Regions from separate parts of the Homo sapiens genome. Here region 2 is linked to region 1. The links are contacts of gene promoters, found by promoter capture Hi-C in human tissues and cell types (Jung and others, 2019). All regions are on one chromosome and are shown on one strand. The core of a region is centred on a gene start or on the middle of the fragment in contact, and the rest is flanking DNA. Distances in the headings are between cores, read along the strand shown.

Region 1 (4,307 bases), core at 297-2,796:
TATACTTTGGACCTGTGCTAGGGGCTAACTATGCTACAATGAATAGACAAACACTGCCCAACCTGATAGAGATTACAGTCTAGTAAGGGAAGACAACAATTTTACACAAGAAATTACTCACAATTATGAGAAATAGGACAAGCGCAGTGGCTCATGCCTGTAATCCTAGAACTTTGGGAGGCTCAGATAGAGAATCGCTTGAGCTCAGGAGTTCGAGACCAGCCTGGTCAACACAGTGAGACCTCGTCTCTACTAAATATTAAAAAAAATTAGCCAGGCCTGGTGGTGCACACCAGTAGTTCCAGCTATTCATGAGGCTGAGGCAGGAAGTTAAGCCCAGGAGTCTGAGGCGGCAGTGAGTTATGACAGTGCCACTGTACTCCAGCCTGGGCAACAGAGTGAGACCCTGTCTCAAAAAAAAAAAAAAAAATTAGGAGAAACGTTACAGAAAGTGTAGGAACTATATTAGAGGATATAACAGACAGGTAAGACTCAATTGCGCCCTGTCACATATGGCACATAATTTAGAATTACTTTTTTTTCTTTTTTTTTTAGAGACAAGGTCCCCCCACCCCAGGGCAGGATGCAGCGGCACGATCATGGCTCACTGCGGCCTCAAACTTCTGGGCTCAAGCAATCCTCCTACCTCAGCCTCCTGAGGAGCTGATACTATAGGTGTGCACCACCACGCCTGGCTTTTTTTTTAAGAGACAGGAGTCTCGCTATGTTGATCATGATGGTCATGAACTCCCGGGCTCAAACTATCCTTCCACCTACAGGTGTGGGCCACTGCTCCTGGCCAGGATTAATTACTTCTTAAATGAACTATGTACCCCAATTTTGAACAATGCAGCTCTGCTGGAAATGTCTGGGACTTAAGTAAAATGTGTAAAGCCATAACCTGATACACACTAGGCCCTCAAGAATAAATGTTAGTTATTTTCACTGGGTGCTGTGCCCCTCCAGAGAGAAACTGATTAGGTTTTGGATACTAATCCCCTAGCTCTAGGCCGCTAAGTAATACCAATCTAATAAGCATTTCAGAAATAAGTATAACAGGAAAGGAAGTAATATGTAATAAAAACATTCTGCATTTGCATCAAGGGTTTCCTCGAGATGTCGAGTATCATTATTCCCAATTTAAAGATGAAGTAACTGAGGCTCGAAAAGAAGAACAGGACCTAACAACATCGTACAGAAGTCCCAGCTCCAGGGCATCTGCTGGTCTTTCTCCACCCCTCCATAACTCTACAACCTTGGTCCAGAACAGGCCTCTGGGCCCCAGACCTCGGAGGGATTGAGCCTTTCCCAGAAGGCTTTGCAGCGCCGCGGAGAACTCTGGGATACAAATGGATACACAAATCCAAAGCAAAAGTCTAGACCTGGGCCCGAGAAACAGCCTCTTAAGCCCCCCAGGTGCCTTCTTCGGCTCGTTTGTGTGCTTACCTTTCCTGGAGCTCCCGCCATCGGGAGCCTCACTAAGCCCCGCAAAGGCTGGGAACAGCGCCATGACCACAGGCCGTACCTCCGTTCTTCTCTATAGGGATGGCGCCGGCGAGCGAGCGCCGGTCTGAGGACCCCTGCCGTCGCGGTGCACTCTGGGAAATGTGGTTTTCGCGGCGCTCTCTGGGGCTTGACCCCGAAGCGGGAGGGGCGGGGCCCAGAGAGGAGGGTCGTCAAGGGACTGGGGCGCGGCGGGGCAGGGAGAGGCAGGGCAAAGCAGGGTGGGGCGGGGCCAAGGGGGGCGGAGCGAGGAGTGACGGGTTCCTAGTGGTTGGGACCCTGTGAGAACCGGAACTGCGAAAACCGGAGAAGGGAATTGTTGACCGCGAAAGGGACTAAGGAAATTGGGATTCCAGTTCGACCCCTAAATTCACACCATCCTTGCTAACTGGGTCAACTTAAACGCTCTAAGCATTACTTTCCTTATCTGCAAAATATTGAGAAGATTAAATGAACATATTTATAAAGGGCCTAGCATTGAGTCCGGCCCATGAAAAGCACTTAATATGTGTTAGCTATTATGTGAATTACGACTGCAAGTTCGGCTCAAAGTCATGTGAGATATCCGAACTTCAATCAGGTTACCATATTAAATACCCCAGAACAAGGAAAAATGGAAAGTCCCATCAAGTTCAAGGGTCTTTGATAGTTAGGAAATACCTGTCTGTGAAGCATTCTTGACCCCGGTTCCTCCCACCCAAAATCTAATCACACTTGCTACCAGAAATATAGAGAGTAAAGGAACAACTTAGAAGACTTTGTACTACCAAGAAACAATTAGCCAAATCTAGAATATGGGAAATTATAGAAAACAACCGTGCTTCCTTAACATATCAAGGGCTTTAAGAGGGCAGGAGATTGTAATAGATACGAAGATCTTACAGACACATCAAGCAAATACAACATATTTGTGGCCTCATTATAATTCTGATTGGACAAACTGTAAAAAGACCTTTTTAAGATAGATGGAGAAATAAGAAGGTAGGCAGAGTACAAGCAATTCACAAGTAATTCTTGTGAATTCTGTTAGATGTACTAAAGTACTTATGTCACTGAGGTGACCCTTATTTATTTATTTTGAGACAAGGTCTCCTTCTGCCACCCAGGCTGGAGTGTAGTGGTACGATCTCTGCTCACTGCAGCTTCGAACTCCTCGATTCAAGCAATCCCCTCACCTCAGCCTCCCAAGTGGCTGGAACCACAGGCATACACCACCATGTCTGGCTTAATTTTTTTTTTTTTAATAGAGACAGGGTTTCACCATGTTGCCCAGGCTGGTCTCGAACTCCTGGGCTCAAGCGATCTGCCCCCCTCTGCCTCCCAAAGTGCTGGGTGCCTGTGCCTGAGCACCCCCCAACCCAGCCTGAGATTACTTTTTAAAGTTCTTATATATTAGAGATATATACTGAAATATTTGCAAGTGAAAATAGATAGGTAAATGAAGATATATTTATTGGGATCCTAGGGAGTTAAAGATCTTTAGTTAGGAAATACATTATAAACCAGAGATGCAAATGTAATCATCTAATCAAGGAATGGATGGACTCTGATGAAGTCTGCAGACCTGCATAAGAATTAGGTTCTATGAGTCCAAAATAGACACCCTTAATGCTTTGAAGTCCCTGGCAGAGTACTTACAAAAAGGAGCTTAGTATGACAATAGGGGCAGTAATTCCTGTATGTCTTCAACTTTAAATCTCAGGTTCTGCCAAAATCTTTGACTCTAAGTTACCTCAATTAATTGGGGCAGCATTTGTCTTTCTTAGCAGATCACTTCAGGTAACTGGGATGGAAATAGTCTATCCCAATGCCTCCTATCTTTCCACCCCAGAAAAGTAAGAATTAATATGGAAGTTTTAAGAAATTAAAACCATAATAATAATGTTTCTGTAATACAAAGGAATCTGGGTATACTAGGTATATTGTGTACTTACAAATGTATAAGAGAATGTTGCTCAAGAGACCCTCCTCATAAGAACAACTGAAAGTGTATAATCAAGTAACTGATACAGACTCCTGGTTTTAAGTTAAAATCTTTTTGTGTTTGTTTTGTTTTTGAGACAAGATCTCCTCTCTCGCCCAGGCTGGAGTGCAGTGGTGCGATCATGGCTCACTCCAGTCTCGACCATCTGCCTCAGCACCCCGAAGTGCTGGGATTATAGGTGTGAGCCACCATGGCCGGCAGTAAATTGAAATCTTAATGAGGTTTAAGCAGTTTCAGGATATCCAAGAGAATCTAAAGCTCGCCATATTTGTAAGTGTAATTGGTTAGCTTTATAAGAATAATGGGGTCCTATTGCAGGAGCATGAGGGAGGCTGAAGATTCCATTTCGAGGCAGCTCTGAGCTCACGAAATAGACACCATGAGCAAAGCTCACCCTCCCTAGTTGAAAAAAGCTTTTGGACAAGAAGTTAGAAGCCTTAGAATGAGTATAAATAATGGCTGTTCAACAATAATAATAACAATAGGAACAAACTACTGATACATACAACATGAATGAATCTCAAAATTGGTATGCTGGGTATAAAAAGCCAGGCACAAAGAGTGTTTACTGTGTTATTCTCTTTATACAAAATCCTAGAAAATACAAATTAATATATAGTGACAGAGAGTGGATCGGTGTTTCCCTTGCTCTGGGAACGAAGAGAGGGATATTCCACAGAGGGGTGTGGAGAATGTTTTGGGCTTGATGGAAATATTCTGACTCTTGTTTATGGTGGGGGTATCACAGGTGTGTAACTGACCAAGTTCTTAAAAGCTTAAGAACAAACAAGGGTTTTCAATTTGTTTTTAATACATTGGA
Region 2 (4,514 bases), core at 1,563-4,062, 1.0 Mb before region 1:
GAGCTTACCCACTACTCTTAAGCAACCGAGCACAGAGTCCTATCATACTCTTAGCGCTGGAGATGGACTGTGATGGCAATCCCTTCGGATGGGTGACATCTACCACCAGACTGCAATTTCCCCAGGAATAAAACAGTCAACGCAGTTGTAACAAAGGGAGAATCACCCACCACAAAAAATCCTTGAAATTCCATTGTTTTGCCTTATAACTGGGGATTAATCACCAGGAAATAATAGAAAACCAAATGTGACCTACGCCACAATGTAACAGGGGCTCTCTGAGTGAAGGATGTCACTCGCTGGCATTTGGAACACGGCAACCAGAGCAGGCTGGACAGAGACGTGTGTGGGAAGCTTCACAAAATACCACTCACCGTTTGAGAAGCATCACTAAGAACACAGATGAAAGTTCAGATTCTCGGGGACACTCTTGACACTTTTCTAACCTTCCAAAGAAGCTTGAGTGTCCCGGCAATTAAAAGGGATCTCTGTGGCCACAGGGTCCAATCCAGGGTGAAGTGGAGAGACCGTGGGATTTGGACTCAGAAATTTTGTTTAAAACACAGACTGAAAGTCTTTTAACTTGTCAAAGTCTCAATTCCATGCCTGCAAGCCGGGGGCAATGTGTGAGAATAAAATGAGATGATGGGGGAAAAAAATTGCTTTCTAGACTGCAAAAATCCCAAAGGTGGTTTTTCTTTTAGTTGTTTTTGTTTTTGAGACAGAGTCTTGCTCTGTCGTTCAGACTGGAGTGCAGTGGTGTGATCTGGGCTCACTTCAACCTCTGCCTCCCGGGTTCAAGCAATTCTCCTGCCTTAGCCTCCCGAGTAGCTGTGATTACAGGCATGCACCACCATGCCTGGCTACTTTTTGTAATTTTAGTAGAGACACAGTTTCGCCATTGGCCAGGCTTGTCTCGAACTCCTGACCTCAAGTGATCCTCCTGCCTTGGCCTCCCAGAGTGCTGGGATTACAGGTGTGAGCCACGCCCAGCCCCAGTGGTAGTCTTGATTGCAAGCAAACCCCAGTTCAGAGTTAACTGACACACTCAAGGCCACACAGCAACATTGTGGCCATTGTCAGGTGGGCACCAGCACTTCCTCCTAGACATCCTTAACTCTCCCAACTTGGCCCGTTTTTCCATTCCTGTGACAGATGAGGTAACTGCACTTTTCCTTTTTTCTTTAAGGATTCTTGGAGATGTTCTAATTGCAAATATTTCTCAGTCTAAAGTAGCAACACTTACTAAATATCCAAGAAGCAACTTCACAGATGTCACTTACTCTAAAGAATGCTAAAAAAAAAAAAAAAAAAAAAAAGTAACTGTTGGCTCACCCCTGTAACCTCAGCACTTTGGGAGGTCTAGGCAGGAAGATCACTTGAGCCCAGGAGTTTGAGACCAGCCTGGGAAACGTTAAAAATAAAACATTTTTTTATTCTACAAAAAATAAACAAAATCAGCCCAGTGTGGTGGCATGTGCCTGTGGTCTCAGCTACTCAGGAGGCTGAGGTGGGTGGATCGCTTGAGCCCAGGAGCTCCAAAGCTGCAGTGAGCCTTGATCACACCACTGCACTCCAGCCTGGGCAACAGAGCAAGACCCTGTCTCAAAAAAAAATATATATATATATAGCTCCATGCAGAATCCTGCAAAGATCCAAAATGGGCACGCGATCAAGAGACAGAAAGAGACCAGGTAGAAACCTACCAAGAGTGGCCCATTTCAGAGGATGACAATTGCTGAGGAGGCATGACTGAAGTGATCAGACCACAACCAACCAGGCCCACCAACACTATAACTGAGTGTGTGGCAAGATTACTCAGAGGGCAATGCACCAATCAAGATAAGAAATGGAATTGCTCTGTAAACTTAGCCAAATGTTGACACTGGAGACTCAACTGATTTCAAAGGTATCAGCCTGCACATAGTTCTTGTATGCCCAATACCACCAGGACCCATGAGAATCTGACAGGTGGCAGCTGCTCTGGCACCATATCTATCGAGCTATTTTATTTTACTTTTAAACAATTATCATTTTACTTTATTTCAGAATAAGTTTACAGTTGAAAAATGATGTTTACTATCAACATTATACGAACAAAACTTTTATAGCAAAACCTTGGTATGTGAGCATTAATAATCCAAATACTACACAGATATAGAAGATATTTTAAAAATGGAAACGACATACTCCAAAGGCTGTAATAGGCACTCTCTTTCTCTCTCTCTCTCTCTCTCTCTCTCTCTCTCTCTCTCTCTCTCTCTCTCTCTCTATATATATATATATATATATATATATATATATATATATATATATGCTTGCACTGGGTCCGTAAGCATTATACTATAATTCATTAAATGTCATCCAAGAAGTTGCAGATTTTTCAACACTACGTACTGAAAAGATACAAAGGACTATCATAATTTCTCTTAACATTGAAAAAAACATGGGGCCGGGTGTGGTGGCTCACACCTGTAATCCCAGTTGGGAGGCGCAAGTGGGCGGATCCCTTGAGGCCAGGAGTTCGAGACCAGCCTGACCAACATGGCGAAATCCTGTCTGTACTAAAAATACAAAAATTTGTTGGGCATGGTGGTGGGCGCCTATAACCCTAGCTACTCAGGAGGCTTAGGCACAAGAATCGCTTGAACCCAGGAGGCAGAGGTTGCAGTGGGACGAGATCATGCCACTGTACTCCAGCCTGGGTGACAGAGTGAAATTCTGTCTCAAAAAAAAAAAAAAAAGAAAAGAAAAAGAAAAGAAAAGAAAAAGCATGTATTAGCAAGACTACAAAATCAGAGCAGAAAGCCAAACTAACAAATAATTCCTTAGGCTTTAGGAGAAGTAATACATCCATGGCTTTTCTCATGTTCATTTTTGCGACTGGTTAGCAAGTCTGGCAGGCAGAAAAGAAAAAATTAGACTATAATAAAACATTAAAGACACCATTTAGAAGACATCTGACATTTAACATGTTCAAAATTGGAAAACAGACACTGAGCTTGATTTTTGGGCAACACTGCGAGGTACTACATAGCAAAAGCACTGTTTCCTCCCATCAATCTGTTGACACAAAAATCTCTTATGCAGAAAAGTAAGTTTTCAAATGACACGGTAGAAATACATATAAGATGAATAATTCAAATTTATACTTTTGGTTTTTAGTAACTATAAAGAATATAGGTCTTTCAAGGACAAAGAACCTGAATTTGGTCCTTAATATGAAATGTTCTTACATCTTTTAAAAGCGTGGGCGGAAATACGTACTCCTGCTGACAGCATATCCACACTGCCAAAGGTGAACATGTGCTCACGATAAGAAAAAAACTGTACATTTCTCAGGGCACATTACTACTACATCATATTGAAATTGTCTAAAAGATAAAAATGTACATCTTAGTTTATTTTTCAACAAGCAATTGAACATACGTGGAAAATTGAATCATGCAGTATTTTTACCTATCAGTTACTATGTTTGTGATATGAGGGGAACAGACTTCTTTTTTTTCCCTTTAAATCCATAATGTTCACAAGTCACCACGTGGAACTAAAATCGCACACACACAGGCAAATCATGAAGAAATGTTAAGTACTTCAAAATGCCCACAAAGTCGTGCCAGAAACGATGCTGTGTCTATAGCACAGAATTGTCGGAGGCCAAAACTAAAGTGGAAGGTGCTTCTGCAACTTCCAGTTCTTTACTGCTACTTTTTTATTTGTTTGATGGAGGGACTCAGGTGAGGGGGTTCACTGACCAACTTGGATCCATCCCATGCTGTCTTGAACTGCTCAGGGACAGGAAATTCTCTGTCATTACCACCCTGACGAATAAGTATATTCATTTTGGATGATATGATGCTCACAATCTCACAGTCTAATGCATCTTCCCCGAGTTAGGTATGTGTGGCAACCTTCTGTCTTATTAGTGGAAATTGCTGGTACTCTCCCCATTACCTGGATTTGAATGTACTTGGAGTTGGTCATTTCCCCAATGCCCACCAAACTGTCAAAGACCAGACCAAACTTCTTACAGTTTTCCACTGGAATGGAGTTTACTTTCCCTTTCATCGGGAGAGCTGATTTTTCACAATTGAAAATGTAAGCCACTTGTTTCAGCTCAGTCTCTGAAATCACAAGGTCATTCCTGTCTTCTTGGTACTCTGCTCTCCATTTACTTCCTTCCAACTTGAACACGGGTGCATGTTGCTGGGAAGGATGAGGTTTGGGAGATGTGGGACTTGGAATGTAGCTTCTGTGGGGAGACGTACTTTGCCCTCCGTGAGCCTGCAGGCTGGGATTCTTATATAGGCCTTCTGGTCATCAGTGATGTGCCAGAGCCCTGGTTCTGCAGGGTTAGGCTTCTCCCTGGTTAAACCGGGCAAATAAAGCTGAGCATGAAGGAGAGGACTTTTCTTTTGTGTCTTCATTCTCAAAAAGTGGAGGGGCCCTGGAGGAGGTGAGGAGGATGTGGAGAAAGGTCAGGCCCTCAGGAGAGAACAGAAAGCGCTGATGTG

The links. Contacts are between HindIII fragments. The study calls those that stand out against the background at their distance.
Region 2: a fragment that was not itself captured here is called in contact with the fragment with the promoter of NRDE2 in region 1 in 1 of the 25 tissues and cell types used here (lymphoblastoid cells).

The regions. Positions count from the first base shown.
Region 1 is chr14:90,330,395-90,334,701 of GRCh38, forward strand. It overlaps NRDE2 (NRDE-2, necessary for RNA interference, domain containing), which reads right to left and starts at 1,547. Exons shown (of 14, transcript NM_017970.4): 1 at 1,447-1,547. The coding sequence starts at 1,510. RefSeq lists an enhancer at 1,301-1,480 and a silencer at 1,631-1,780. The HindIII fragment of the contact is 6,388 bases long and covers 1-4,081 here.
Region 2 is chr14:89,286,454-89,290,967 of GRCh38, forward strand. The region is part of intron 3 of FOXN3 (forkhead box N3); the gene reads right to left. It also overlaps the pseudogene CAP2P1. Among named protein-coding and RNA genes, the nearest start is that of FOXN3-AS3, 62 kb to the right of the region's middle. The HindIII fragment of the contact is 8,255 bases long and covers 1-4,514 here.